Linked DNA regions of Homo sapiens: all the other regions are linked to region 3. Evidence: promoter capture Hi-C in 16 types of primary human blood cells and fetal thymus (Javierre and others, 2016). All regions are on one chromosome and are shown on one strand. The core of a region is centred on a gene start or on the middle of the fragment in contact, and the rest is flanking DNA. Distances in the headings are between cores, read along the strand shown. Region 1 overlaps SLFN14 (schlafen family member 14). Region 2 overlaps AP2B1 (adaptor related protein complex 2 subunit beta 1). Region 3 holds the start of CCT6B (chaperonin containing TCP1 subunit 6B). Region 4 overlaps LOC124903986 (a long non-coding RNA gene). Region 5 has its middle 69 kb from the start of CCL1.

Region 1 (2,700 bases), core at 124-2,623, 580 kb before region 3:
GTCTCAAGCTTTCCAGGTCCAGAACTTGATTGCCTTTTTGTACCAAGTCTAGATCAGTCTCTTGGGGATGCTTTATGCTAATCAAGCTCACAAAGGACCAATGCATACATCAAAATGTTACTCTGTTAATTTATAGTGAGGACCATAGTCATAAGTGGGTCAAATGCTTTTGCTAATCAGTGCCCTCAACAGTAATATAGGAAGCCAAATTATATGAACATAGCCTTACAGTAAGGGAAGCTGGTAATTTGATTCAAATCTTAAAAATCTTCAGATTATATTAGACTATTGCAATATCTATTAGGTTGGTGCAAAAGTGCAAAAGCCACAATTACTTTTGCACCAACTTAATATAAAATAAGATTGCAATAATTTCTAAAATAAAGATATTTCTATCACAAGGACTAGACAAATTAGTTTACAGTTTACAAGCTAAAGCAAATTTAGAATGCTAAGGATGACTAGTTTTTCATTATTCTTTGCCCTCAGATGAATTTTTTTTTCTCTGTCTTGGTTTCTAAAATTTCCAGGTTCACCACCAACCCTCTCCTTACTGCCCCCAACATATACAAATTTTGCCTACATTTATCCTCTATGTATGTGAATACATTCATGTAGGCTAGAAATGCCTTATACTCTGCCGCTGGCCTGGAAAGTAGTCTTCCTACAAGGGGCCTTTGCACATCTCTGATTTCTTCCATTATGACTTGGTGCTAATTTTTAAATCCAACTCTCAGAGTTTATGGGGATCCTTGGTGGCAACTTTACCACCAACACCACCCACACACATCCCCGACTCCTGGTCTGTGCCTGTGCCATTTTCTCAGTCTTTAAACCCTTTTCTGTCCCCTCCACCTTTGAAATCCTTACTTGGCAATCACATCCTTTTTCAAATGCCTACTACCTCAATTAAACTTTTATTATCTCCCTAAGTGAAACTTTCCAATGTATATGATACATATTAGAAATGAAATCAAAGTTCCCCTTTTCTAGTCAGTTCCCCAAATGGCTGAGCCAATTCTGTACTCTTCAAATTACTCTTGCTTTTGCAAGGATTTTTAAATTGCTTTGGAAGTATTCATATTTCCAAACTGTTTTTAACTTCTAGAAAAGTTTAGGATAACTTGATTGACTCTGGGGAGGCTTGAATCCAGGAGACATGTGGAAATTTTGGTTATGATTTTAGATAAAGCCCCTCAGCCTTCCAAGAGGTGGAAGAGCAGGCAGGGTTTCGAGAAGCTCTCTTAGCTGCCTTTCTGAATTGCTTAGGCCCATTAGAAGGGCTAGTCTGTACCTAGGCACGGGTTGAAAAGAAAAACCTCTCCCTTGCTTCCTACTGCTCTAATTACCTGGTGTTTCTTCCTTTTTACCTTTCCTTGGGGGCTTTAGGGTAGTTTTGGATAGGAGGAAATGAAGTTCAGCAATCGGTTTTGCAAAAGATGCCAGTGCATTGACATTCTGATGTAGGGAGATGTATGAATTCTATAAAAATAATTTAAACAGTCAAAGTCAACAGAGTATGAAGGAGTATGAGTGGGACAAGGAATTGCTATATTTTAGTCATAAGCCTTAGTACCATTTGACTTTTTAAAATATATGCATGCATCATATAATTTTTAATAAAAGAATTGATTTGTAAAGAATTGTTTTAAATATTGAATTTGAGAGTCTTTGTCAGTTCTTAGTCTAGTGAAACAATTCAATCAGGATGAAAGTAGAATAACTAACTCAGTGATTCTCAACCCTGGATGCTCATTATAATTTCCTGGGCGACTTAAAAAAAATCAGTGATCAGGCCAGACACCAGACTAATTAACCTCAGTGTGTCTGAACACAGGCTCGGGCATCGGTATTTATTAAATGTTGTCCAGGCAGGGTGCAGTGGCTGGTGCCTGTAATACCAGAACTTTGAGAGGCTGAGGTCTGGGGGAATCACTTGAAGCCAGGAGTTGGAGACCAGCCTGGGCAACATAACAAGACCCCATCTCTACAAAAAAAATTTTTTTAAAAACTTAGTTGGGCATGGTGGTGCATGCTTTTAATCCTAGCTACTCCAGAGGCCAAGGTGGGAGGATCACTTGAGCCCAGGAGTTTGAGGCTACAGTGACCTATGATTACTCCACTGCACTCCAGCCTGGGTTACAGAGCAAGACTCTATCTCTTAAAAAAAATCCAAATGATTCTAATATGTCACAAGGGTTGAGAACCATTGAACCCTTCTCCTAGTCTGTTCTTTCTGTCCTCAAAAAATGTGTGCACATTTCTCTTCCTATTAAGACTGTGAGCTCCTTGAGAGTAAGAGGATGAGTCACTTACACATCCTTATTTCCCCTAGAGCAACTAGTACAGTGCCTCACACAGGGCAGGTGCTCAGTAAATATTTGCTGAATTGTACTTGTAGCTTTTAGAAAACTAGAATCTACAATGATTCAATTCGATAGTATGAATTTCTAATGTTAGAGATTTCAAAGAAGTCAGTGTGGAGAATAATCTTTAACACTGTAATAATGAAGAATAAGGGAACAATAAAGGCAACTCAATTGTTTTTAGGCAACAGGTCAAATTAAGGATCTATGATGATAGTTCATTAGATTCAAATGTAAGATTAGGAACTGGTGGGGACTAAGAATAATGGACTAACTTGGTTGTTTTAGAATTCTCAATGTTTTCTACAAAGTCTTAATATGATGGATAAAGCAA
Region 2 (2,700 bases), core at 41-2,540, 630 kb before region 3:
TCATACTTACCTTTTTTATTGGTTGTGAAATACTTGGAGTCAGTCATGACTTTGGATCTTTAATGTGCACCTATAGCAAGAGAAAAGAATTCCTTCATTCAGGTTATAGATATCCAACAAGGCATCCAATTAATTTTAAGAACATCCAATTAATTTTAGGAACACTTATATTTAAGAATTTCTAAAAATGAGTATCATCTTCCTTTATCACCACCGTTGATGGTTCAAGAAAAACTAAGAATGTAACTCCTCAAGCTAATGGGGCAAAAATCTAAAGGCCAAATGCAACTGGGTAAAAGTATGAACCTATTATGGCTTTGTGATTTTATCCACAGTAACTCCTCAAAGCTTTCAAGAGCTAAAGCTGGACCTTTTTATAAATATATCTGCAATTACTTTCCATTCAGGAAAATCTGGTAACTTCCTTGCCTCAAGCTGGAATCACTCCAAAACATATATTCTGAAGCAGTGTAAGGTCAAAAGAAAAAACAATTTTGCCGATCTATGACATGAAACTTTCAATAAAAAGAATCTCTTTCAGAAAAAAAAAATTCAAAATTAGTAGGACAATATTCTTTCACAACAAACATCTAGAGAGGCAACCATGACTTATGCATGGAATTTTTTTAATTTTTAGTTTTGTGGGTATTTAGTAGGTGCGTATAGGTACATGAGATATTTTGATAACAGGCAGACAATGCATAATAATTACATTAGTGTAAATGGGATATCCATCACCTCAAGCATTTATCCTTTCTTTGTATTATAAACAATTCAATTACATTCTTTTAGTTATTTTTAAATGTACAGTAAATTATTGTTGACCGCAGTCACCCTTTTGTGCTATCAAATACTAGATCTTATTCATTGTATCTAACTATATTTTTGGATTTAAAAAAAAATGTGGCTTTCTTACTTCCAACAATCCAGATTTAGCCCAAGAGTATTCCCAAATAATGCCAGTTTATAGTTAAAAACAAGGCAAAAGACTGAGACATCCGTTCAGACACGAGAATCAAACTGGTGTTGAAACAAAAGAACGTGGATCTCAACCTCAACCTTAACTCTTCCATCCCAATTTCCAGAAGAAGTAATCCAGATGACAAATGGCTCTACTAACAAAAACGGCACAGTCTGGTCACATTTTTACTAAATAATAAGACTACTTTTTCTGATTTGAGAAACTATAAGACTTTGTCCAATGTACCAGACTTCTTTAAATATATTAAAATTTTGGGGCCAGGCACAGTAGCTCACGCCTGTAATCCCAGCACTTTGTGAGGCTGCCGGGTGGATCACTTGAGGTCAGGAGTTCAAGACCAGCCTCGCCAACATGGTGAAATCCTGTCTCTGCTAAAAATACAAAATTTAGCTGGGCATGGTGGCACGTGCCTTTAATCCCAGCTACTTGGGAGGCTGAGGCAGGAGAATCGCTTGGACCTGGGAGGCGGAAGCTGCAGTAAGCCGAGATCACGCCACTGCACTCCAGCCTGGGCAACAGAGCAAAAGTCCATCTCAAATAAATAAATAAATAAATAGGAATTTGGGCCAGGCGCGGTGGCTCAGGCATGGTGGCATGTACCTGTAGTCTCAGCTACTTGGGAGGCTGAGGTGTGTGGATCGCTTGAGCTTAGGAGATCAAGGCTACAGGGAGCTATGATCTCACCACTGCACTCCAGCCTCAGCGACAGAGACCTTGTCTCAAGGGGAAAAAAATATATAAATATACATATATTTTTTAATAATATTCCTTCTGTACTCAAAATGAGTATCTTTTTCCTTATCACCATCACTAATAATACTTATCACCAACTTCAGGACAAGACATGCTGGCACCTGCTCATTATTATCAGGTCAATATGACATAATGTATTTGGCAAACAATAGTAAATATGGATCTAGGAGAAAAGACCTAAGCACCAAACAAATCAATGTAATTAAAGAAAAGAAAAAAGAGCCAGATAAACATAAAATAATGAAAAACTTCTGGTTCAAATCTGATCTCTAAAACGTGCTACTTGTACAGTTTAATGGAAATTAGACTCATTTGCTATCTTTCCAACCAGCTAATTACTATTTATAGTCTTGATCCTAATAGCTCTTTAGATTGTACCAGAAATTCACAGAATGATCTTGTTAAAAGAAGTGAGCTAGGACTCACAAATATCATTACAGAATATAGAAATTTCTCCTTTAATACTTGTTATAATTAAAAATTATACTGAAGCTTGCCTTATGCAATGTTTTTACAATGTGTTTCTAGCAAAAATTCAAAGAATGTTATAATCATTTAGTCCATTCATAATGTAAACTAAATGTGAAGTGGGCAAATGAAGAAAGGAATTCTTCACATAAAAGACCTGGAATAAATCTGAAGTTATTTATGAATGTATATATACAAACAGAAAAACCAGTAAACAGAAACGATTACTTGAGCCTCAAAGAAGGACTATAGCTCAAATCCATTACAATCTGTCTAGGATATTTACTATGCTATGCTATGTCCTTTAAAACTTGTTTAAGATTTTAAAACAAAACCTCCTTAGAATTTGTCACCCAATTTCTCTGAAAAGCCTCTTATACATACACATATTAAATTTTTTTTGGCCAGGCACGGTGGCTCACGCCTGTAATCCCAACACTTTGGGAGGACGAGGCGTGCGGATGGCTTGAGCTCAGGAGATCGAGACCAGTCTGGGG
Region 3 (2,700 bases), core at 113-2,612:
CTCATTTTATCTCAACAATCCAGTTTAGCAATCCAGGTACCCAAATCTTGAGGCATGAAGTAACCGCTATACTACTGAGAGACAGCACTTTTTATACAACAGCAGAGGCTGTTAGAAACCTTGGGTCTTTAAAACCCTATAACAATGCCCCTTTCACCCTCCAATCCTGAGACAACAAATCCTGTAGTTCCCCCTCATCATCGCTGTCAGCATTCTCTTCTTCCTTTTTCTGCAGTTCTTTTATGGTCAGGATTTCTTTAAGTTTATTTTTTATTTCATCCTGGCGATTCCGTAGCTTTTCCACCCGTCGGTAACACTCTATCTGCTCATCGATCTCCCCAATCTGGCGGTCCAACCGTCCCTCCTCATCCTCTTCGGCAACTATGGCTTCGGAAATAGTGTTGACCTGCCTCATGGCTTTTTGGAATTCGTCCCACTCTTTGTCCATCTGATCTTTTGGAGCATCAACCTTTCGTACTCTTGCATCTACCTCAGGGTCGTCAAAAAAACCTTCCGGTAACGCTTCCGCGGTGTTTTCTCTCCTTTCCACCACTTTTTCATGTATTTCTGCTTTCTCAATTGACCCTGAATGAGGAATTATGGGGGCCTTGGGAGGATTAGTACTAAAGAAATCGTTTGGCAGCACACTACTTGTTACCTCCCGTGAAGAGGAAACTGAGTGCTCCTTGCCCTGTGCGTCGGAGAGCGGCTTGCTGGCGTCCCCCCTTTTTCTTTCTCCATCTCCTTCCTCCTCCTCTTCCTCCTCCTCCTCATCTTCATAATCGGGGAGTAAACTGAGTCCTGAAGGCTTACTGGGAGTCGCTCTAATGAACTCCTTTCCTATTTTGTCAAAGTTGGTGGTCCACGCAGATGTGGAGGGCTGTACCTGAGGCACCAAGGTGGCCTTCGCTCTCTTGACATCTTGGTCGTCTGCGTCCGGCGCTTTCCTCTTGACGGAATGAGGCGCTGAACTGGCGGACGAACCCTGGCTGGCTTCCTTCGCGCCTTTCAGCTCGGCCACTTTCTCTCGGTGCTGCTTTCCCAGGACGTGAGTCTGCCACAGGAGCTCGCTCTTAACCGGAGTGTTACACAGGGCACAACTCAGCTGCCCCAAACGGTTGTACTTCGCGAATGGAGATTCTATCCGTTTCCGACTGGTGCTCAGACGCTGCTTCTCCTTCATTAACCGCCGCAATTCTTCCTGATTTATCACTCGCTTCCCTGCCGGAGTCCGGGCGGAGGCGGAGGACGCCATCTTGGCGACCAGACCCAAAACGATTCTGGTTTCCGTCGGGCGAGGCATGATAACGTCACTTCCTGTAAGGGCGATGATTGGCCGAGGCTCAAGAGAGCGTGGCGTCGCATTGCCGTTTTTGCTCAGAATCGCGACTAAGGCTTTTTTTTTTTCTCCCTCTGAACGGTTAGGCTATGGCTGCGATAAAGGCCGTCAACTCCAAGGCTGAGGTGGCGCGGGCCCGGGCAGCTTTGGCTGTCAATATATGCGCCGCCCGAGGGCTGCAGGATGTGCTGCGGACCAACTTGGGTCCTAAAGGCACCATGAAAATGTGAGACAGCGGTTGGAGCGGCCATTACGCGGCTAGGGGCCCGTTGGTGTCCTGTCGCCCTCTGAGGCAGGCGTCCGCGTAGCGCTGTGGATGTTCTTGCGAGCTTGATTTCCCTCATTCTCATCCCTGCTCTGGGGGTATTTCTCGCCTGGTGCAGGTGGAGGAGAAAAGCCTCCCCTAGTAGAGGGCCCCGGGAGTGAAGCTGTGGCGCTTCCCCGACCCCCGACTTGTCGTCAAGGTTCATATGCAGTTAGAAAGTCAGTTAATTTAGTGTCTCATTGGAAACAAAGCATTTAACTCCTCTGCTCCTTAAGACTGTATACCCTTGGTCCATAAATTCAACAAGTAGTTTTGTTTTTTGTATGGCAATGTATTGTAGTGGAGAGGACACAGGCTTTGGAGCCAGGAAGGCATGGGGTCAAATCCAAGTTCTACTTGAATACCCCGTGTCTATGGTTGTTCAGATCTATTCATCTTTTCAGTATATATTAAGCACCCTTTTCTATAGACAAGAGTGAGGAAAAGAGACCAGTGAGGGCAAAAGGGTATAAGAGGAGAGACACATCCTCATAGTAATGAACAAAATAATATTAATGGTAAAATAAGTCACTTAGGTACCAGTTGTTGGGACACAGAAATGATCAAGATAACGGTTTCTGTTCTTAAGGAGATGTGGTAGAGACGGATGTGGTAGAGTAGGATGTGCTAATTATATATAGATGCATATAATTATGCTGAAGAAAGGGACTGATGGCAGAAGGAAAAGCATCTTAAGTAACATGTTTGATCAGTCTTGAAAGAAGAATAAGACTTCACTAGTTGGAAGAGGGAGTAAAGGCCTGGGCAAAGTAATTTCAGGAATAAGAAAGACCAATGGTGCAAATCCAACAGAAACGAAACAAAACATGGTATATTAAGGGAACCAGAAGATTTGCTTGTGGAAAAGTAGATGAGGCAGGGAAGATATTGGGAAAGGTCAAGTATGTCATTGCTGTGTTTGGATTTTAACTTGAAAATGATGGAAAACATAAAAATCATTGGAGGACTTTTGATCAGGGAACTGACTGAATCACGTTGCCTTTTAGAAAGAAAAATGTGTGGAGGGTATATTTAAGTTTGGAGATATCCGGATGCC
Region 4 (2,700 bases), core at 11-2,510, 550 kb after region 3:
CTTCAGAATAATTCTATTCACACAGCATACGGCACAACATGAGCATTTTTACCCAGGGCAAACGGCCTTGCATGATTTCAGCAAGGAAGTGAGGCTGCGCGTGGCAGAGGAACGGGGGAGGAGCGGTTTGTGGGAGGGTGGTAGTGAAGGGAAATGTCAGGGGTGAGTTGGTTCTGGGAAGGCAGCCACTGGGTTCTGGGTCCCATGAAAGAAGTATCCTAGGCTATAGACTGCAGATCTATTGGGATGGAGAACACACACACACACACACACACACACATACGCACACACACACACAAACACACCCCAGATCTATACGGTCACAGCCTGTGCAATGCCATTCCCTCTCCCTAGAACAATGTTCTCCTCCATGTTTGCCCCACCTGTGACTTATCCTAATCCTGCATATGAAGATCTGTAGTGACGTCTAGGCCCCCTCCCCTTTCTATATGACACCCTATCTATACCTCTTCCCACACTTGATCATTTTGCGTATGTGTGTGTGTGTCTGTCTGTCTGTCTATCTTCTCATTTGACAACAGAGCCCTCCGCAGTAGGAAGCATTTCTTTCTCATCTTAATATCCTTAGCATCTGGTGTGTGGTCAACACTCAATGAATGTTGAATGAATGACTAAAATTAGCATCCAGCCTATCATGAAACCTTAATGAACATTAAGTGAATTAAGCCCCATCCAAAGTCTCTTCTTTATCAATATCCAGGAAGGCCTTGGATATGCACACTAATGATGACTATGCATATTTCATAAAACTGTTTCCAGAACCTACCACGCCCCCCGTATTAGTCATGTATAGTAGCACAGTGTTATTCTATTGTGTTAACACATTTCCCTTTGCCTGGTCAGCCCCTTCTTGTTTGGCCTTTGTGTTGTTGGCAATTTATAGTTATTATAGAAATAATGCTGCTATAGATGTGTTTTTCTTTCTTTGGAGCTAACACTGTAGGATTTTTTTTTAACCAAAGAAGGAATTACCGGGTCAGAGCCTCTCAACAGCAGTGTGGCTCTCATTCATGTTGCCTGATTGCTTATGGAAATTTGTCCAGTCTTTCTAAAAGGCAATGCTGAAGGATGTGTTTCCACTGGCTGCCTATCCTGGGTTTTATCATACTTATTTTTGTGGCTTTAGTAGGCATGTAACAGGACCTGAAAGTTGCCTGGATCTAAATTGTATTTTATAGCTGGCAAGACCGCGCCTATTTCCACGTGGTGATTTACTATCTCCATTTCCTGGTTTAATTTTGTTCATCTCCTTTGACCACTTATCAGGAAGAATCACATAACGGCCTATCCATTATCTGTTTTGGGCAGTAAGCAGGCCTGGGAGGGAGAATGAGACAGACGTAACGGATGCCGTAGCTTTCCTTTTGGTATTTATTTTTATTACATTGCAATGCAAACATTTTTATTCTCACATATTTGAACCCATCTATCAGAGCCCTGATGGTATCTTTTTCTTCAATAGCCAGGAATTTATCTCCTTATCAGCAGCAGGGGTAACAATGCCAGTTCCTTGTCTCCAGGTTTGTCACAGATTAGCAGTACGATATAGCTGAACTTGACAGGTATGCTGTATGAATTTAAATTAACTCTCCCCTGGCCTGTTAGCCAACTGTCCCCGCGATGCTTATTAAATACCAATCTCTTTCTCCAATATGCTCCTTGGCTGGCCTAACGTTGGTTTTGCCAGAATTCAAATCCATCTCAGGAATCTCTCTTCTGGTGACCTTTGTGGTTTTTAACTCAGTACAGGATGGTTTCAGTGATTGACAATTCACATCTTAATCACTCAGGAGGGATCAGCTATCACTGCCATTAAAAGACAAATGCTTTGATGGTTCTTTACCTGGAAGAATAAGCATCCTACACTCAGAGCTGTCAAATTCTATTAAAGGACTCAGAAGAATTTACATTGGTATTGCACTAACTCTATATATTGACTTTGGAACATAGCATATGTACTTAGGGATTACAATTAGACCAGAGCTGGAAAGCTCCCCAAAGACCTCAGAGCTTTAGACAAGGGAAAAACTCAAGTTTTCTTCAAATGAGTCTGGCCTGGGGAATGTCCCAAGGCTGATCCTTCTCTGTAATGTCATTTTTCTCCAGCCTTCCCCCACCCCCATCCCAGGAAATTGGTTTCGATATCCAGAGAGAGAGAAAACCAAAAGGGAATCTTGACTGTACTCTAAAAGTCCCGTGGTAAATATGTTGGTGGGAGGGTGATGGGTTGGGCAGAGGATGACAATAGAAGATTCACAGCTCCTTCAGTCAGTCTGGAGCTCACAGAACATGCTTTCCACCACTTCAGTGCCAGTATTTTCAATTCCCTTGGCTCACTGTCCTTTGGTTTTGCTCTCCTAGCAAAGCCCCAGATCAGAATCTATCCAAATGTCCAGCACCGCCTCAGTCACACCTGGGCTGCTCAGCACTCTCAAAGGAAGATCACACAGCCGCATGAACTGCTGCTGCAGAAAGTGTGCAGCGTCCAAGCTCAGTGAGGCTGGGGATCCTCTGGTGCTTCCACCATCCCCATTCTCTTCCCAACCCTGTCTTTCGTTTCTCCTCCCGGTCACACTGGGATCCTTGCACATGTGTGGATCTATTCCTCCTGGAGCCTAGTCAGGAAGGAACCTCACTCTCCTGATTATACAGGCTCTGTCCTGGAGCCTCAAACTCATC
Region 5 (2,700 bases), core at 4-2,503, 530 kb after region 3:
TCATAAAGTTAAATTTATTCATTATCAACAGGATTGTCCTTTCCCTGGAGTTATATCTTTCCTGCTTTCTTGGTTTGAAAATATCCTGTCACCCGTGAAAAGATAGTGATTATAGACTTGAGATGATTTCTCGGGTATCTACACTTAGAACTGCATAAAGCTGGTAATGCTATGTGAATCCTCCAATTTTCTCTTTAAAGATTTTGCTGCACCCATCAATGTATAGTAACAAACCTGCATGTTCTGCACATGTATCCCAGAACTTAAAAGTATATACATAAACCACAACAAACTCCTTAGCTTGTTAACTGTCATCTCATTCACACTTATGACTTTTATTTTCTTCCTTCTCCATTCATACCAATGATGTATCTGTCAACCTCCTTTTTTGCTGTTACAAAAAAAAAAAATTGCTGAACTACAGAATCCTCTAGTCTGAGAACCACGGGGCTGTACTTTGTCAGTTATCATTTATATCAACTCCTTTCCCAATCTTGGGACTTTTTTTTTTTGTTTGCTTTGTACAGATAGTCTTTGAAATTCAAATACCTCAATCTGTGTTTAAATTTAATAATCTTTAAAAAATGTTCATAAGGTAACATATATTATATTCCACATACCTGGTAATTTGGGAGAAGGAGACATTTCTTTTACAAGATCATATCTTTTTGCTTTTCTGTGTCTGTATGATGACTTGGTTTGAAGCATGTTCAGTCCTATAAAGACTCCATACACAACCCCATAGGCTCAAATTAGGTGATGAGTGTGAAGGGGAGGTGGGTGTGAAGAGGAGGGGGGTGTCTTAGCTCAGGCTGCCATAACAAACTTCTGTATCCTGGGTGGCTTAAACACCAAACATTTGGCCGGGTGTGGTGGCTCCTGCCTGTAATCCCAGCACTTTGGGATGCCAAGGCGGGCCAGATCACCTGAGGTCAGGAGCTTAAGACCAGTCTGACCAACATGGCAAAATCCCGTCTCTACTAAAAAAAATACAAAATTAGCTCGGCGTGGTGGTGGGTGCCTGTAATCCCAGCTACTCTACTTGGGAGGCTGAGGCAGCAGAATTGCTTGAACCCAGGAGGCAGAGGTTGCAGTGGGCCGAGACCATGCCACTGCACTCCAGCCTGGGCAAAAAAGAGTGAGACTCTGTCTCAAAAACAAATAAACAAACAAATAAACAAAAAAAAAACCCCAAACATTTATTTTTCACAGTTTGGAGATTGGAAGTCCTAGCTAGAGTGCCGCAGGGCTGGGTTCTTGATGAGCGCCTTATCCTTGTTTATAGACAGCCATCGTCTTGCTGTGTCCTCACATGGTGGAAGGAGAGTGAGCTCTTTGGCCTCTTCCTATCAAGGCACTAATCCCATTCATGAGGGCTCCACCCTCATGACCTAATTACCTCCCAAAGGCCCCACCTCCAAATACCATCACACAGGGATTAGGGCTTCAACATAAGTTGAAGGGGGTGAGTTGGCGGATGGGCACAAATATTCAGTGCATGGCTGGTGAAAGAGTGGAAGGGTAGAAGGATGGAAGAGAAAGATGATGAATTCCCAAGGTATCCTGAGACAGCTCAGATACGGGAAAAGCAAAATCATGGGCAAGAGGCTGCCAAATGTCTAGGGCTGGGAAGGTCAATGATGAGAGCCAAGTTCAAAAAGCAAGGTAAGGAGGATGTGTTAGAGAGATCAGTCATGGTGGATGCTAAAGGGATCCATGAAAGAGTGTTAATGGAGAGTGAGGAGTGCAGGGGCTCCCATCCGCTATGGCCTTCCTACATTACTGGTGGACGGTGCAAGGTCAGAAGCCTGGGTGCAGAGGCTGCATGTGCTCCTGGGCAGGGTAGGGGCTATGACCTAGTAACACTAGTAACAATAGTAGTTAGGGATATGACCTAGTAACATTAGTAACACTGCTATGTTACATACGATGGGAGCCCAGGCTAGAGTGCAGTGGTGCGATCTCAGCTTACTGCCAGCTCCGCCTCCTGGGTTCACGCCATTCTCCTGCCTCAGCCTCCCGAGTAGCTGGGACTACAGGTGCCCGCCACCATGCCTGGCTAATTTTTTGTATTTTTAGTAGAGACAGGGTTTCACCGTGTTAGCCAGGATGGTCTCCATCTCCTGACCTTGTGATCTTCCCACCTTGGTCTCCCAAAGTGCTGAGATTACAGGCGTGAGCCACCGCGCCCAGCCCCCTATTTCCTTCTTTCTGTTGAGAGAGTTTTGCTGGGGAAAGAACTGCAACCTTGCTTCTCACTCTCCACTTTTCCTTTCCCTCCTTCCACCACAAAGGAAGAGGAGTTGTAAAGTGACAGGTCAAATTCTGGACTCTCCTGGGAACATTAGAAAGTAGGCAGATATGCTGCCACCTAGGTGTAACATTCCCTGTGGGGCTGCATGTGTCTTTGTCTTAAACTGCTCAGACTGTTGTCACTAAGTGCCAAAGACTGAGTGGTTTAAACCTTAGAAATTCATGTCTCACAGTTCCAGAGGCTGGGGAACCAAGGTCAAGTTCCTGGCTGATTTGGTTCCTGGCTTGCAGACGGCAGTCTTCTACCTGTGAGCTCACATGGTGAGGGGTGGGGGGTGGGGGGCATGGGAAGGGTGGGAGAGAGAGAGAGAGAGCGAATGAGCTCTGGTGTCTATTCTTATAAGAACAAGAATCCTATATTATCAGGCCCCATCCTAATCCTCTCAT

The links. Contacts are between HindIII fragments. The CHiCAGO score rates a contact against its expected background, and 5 or more counts as called.
Region 1: a fragment that was not itself captured here is called in contact with the fragment with the promoter of CCT6B in region 3 in 2 of 17 cell types (neutrophils and fetal thymus); the score reaches 8.0 in neutrophils.
Region 2: a fragment that was not itself captured here is called in contact with the fragment with the promoter of CCT6B in region 3 in 2 of 17 cell types (neutrophils and fetal thymus); the score reaches 5.8 in neutrophils.
Region 4: a contact is called between a fragment that was not itself captured here and the fragment with the promoter of CCT6B in region 3, in 2 of 17 cell types (megakaryocytes and erythroblasts). The highest score is 6.3, in megakaryocytes.
Region 5: a contact is called between a fragment that was not itself captured here and the fragment with the promoter of CCT6B in region 3, in 4 of 17 cell types (M0 macrophages, endothelial precursors, M2 macrophages and 1 more). The highest score is 7.5, in M0 macrophages.

What each region holds. Positions count from the first base shown.
Region 1 is chr17:35,544,974-35,547,673 of GRCh38, reverse strand. It overlaps SLFN14 (schlafen family member 14), which reads left to right. Exons shown (of 6, transcript NM_001129820.2): 6 at 1-2,700. Among named protein-coding and RNA genes, the nearest start is that of SLFN12L, 8.6 kb to the right of the region's middle. The HindIII fragment of the contact is 2,726 bases long and covers 11-2,700 here.
Region 2 is chr17:35,591,378-35,594,077 of GRCh38, reverse strand. AP2B1 (adaptor related protein complex 2 subunit beta 1) reads right to left here. Exons shown (of 22, transcript NM_001030006.2): 2 at 11-70. The coding sequence starts at 47. Among named protein-coding and RNA genes, the nearest start is that of AP2B1, 5.4 kb to the right of the region's middle. The HindIII fragment of the contact is 1,879 bases long and covers 351-2,229 here.
Region 3 is chr17:34,960,122-34,962,821 of GRCh38, reverse strand. It overlaps CCT6B (chaperonin containing TCP1 subunit 6B), which reads left to right and starts at 1,362. Exons shown (of 14, transcript NM_006584.4): 1 at 1,362-1,565. The coding sequence starts at 1,429. ZNF830 (zinc finger protein 830) reads right to left here and starts at 1,282. Exons shown (of 1, transcript NM_052857.4): 1 at 1-1,282. The coding sequence starts at 1,255. The coding sequence ends at 137. RefSeq lists enhancers at 989-1,238, 1,319-1,398, 1,449-1,668, 1,769-1,818 and a silencer at 1,538-1,832. The HindIII fragment of the contact is 8,368 bases long and covers 1-2,700 here.
Region 4 is chr17:34,411,299-34,413,998 of GRCh38, reverse strand. LOC124903986 (a long non-coding RNA gene) reads right to left here. Exons shown (of 2, transcript XR_007065722.1): 2 at 1,379-1,864. Among named protein-coding and RNA genes, the nearest start is that of CCL1, 49 kb to the right of the region's middle. The HindIII fragment of the contact is 3,355 bases long and covers 1-2,700 here.
Region 5 is chr17:34,430,895-34,433,594 of GRCh38, reverse strand. No RefSeq gene overlaps it. Among named protein-coding and RNA genes, the nearest start is that of CCL1, 69 kb to the right of the region's middle. The HindIII fragment of the contact is 3,958 bases long and covers 1-2,700 here.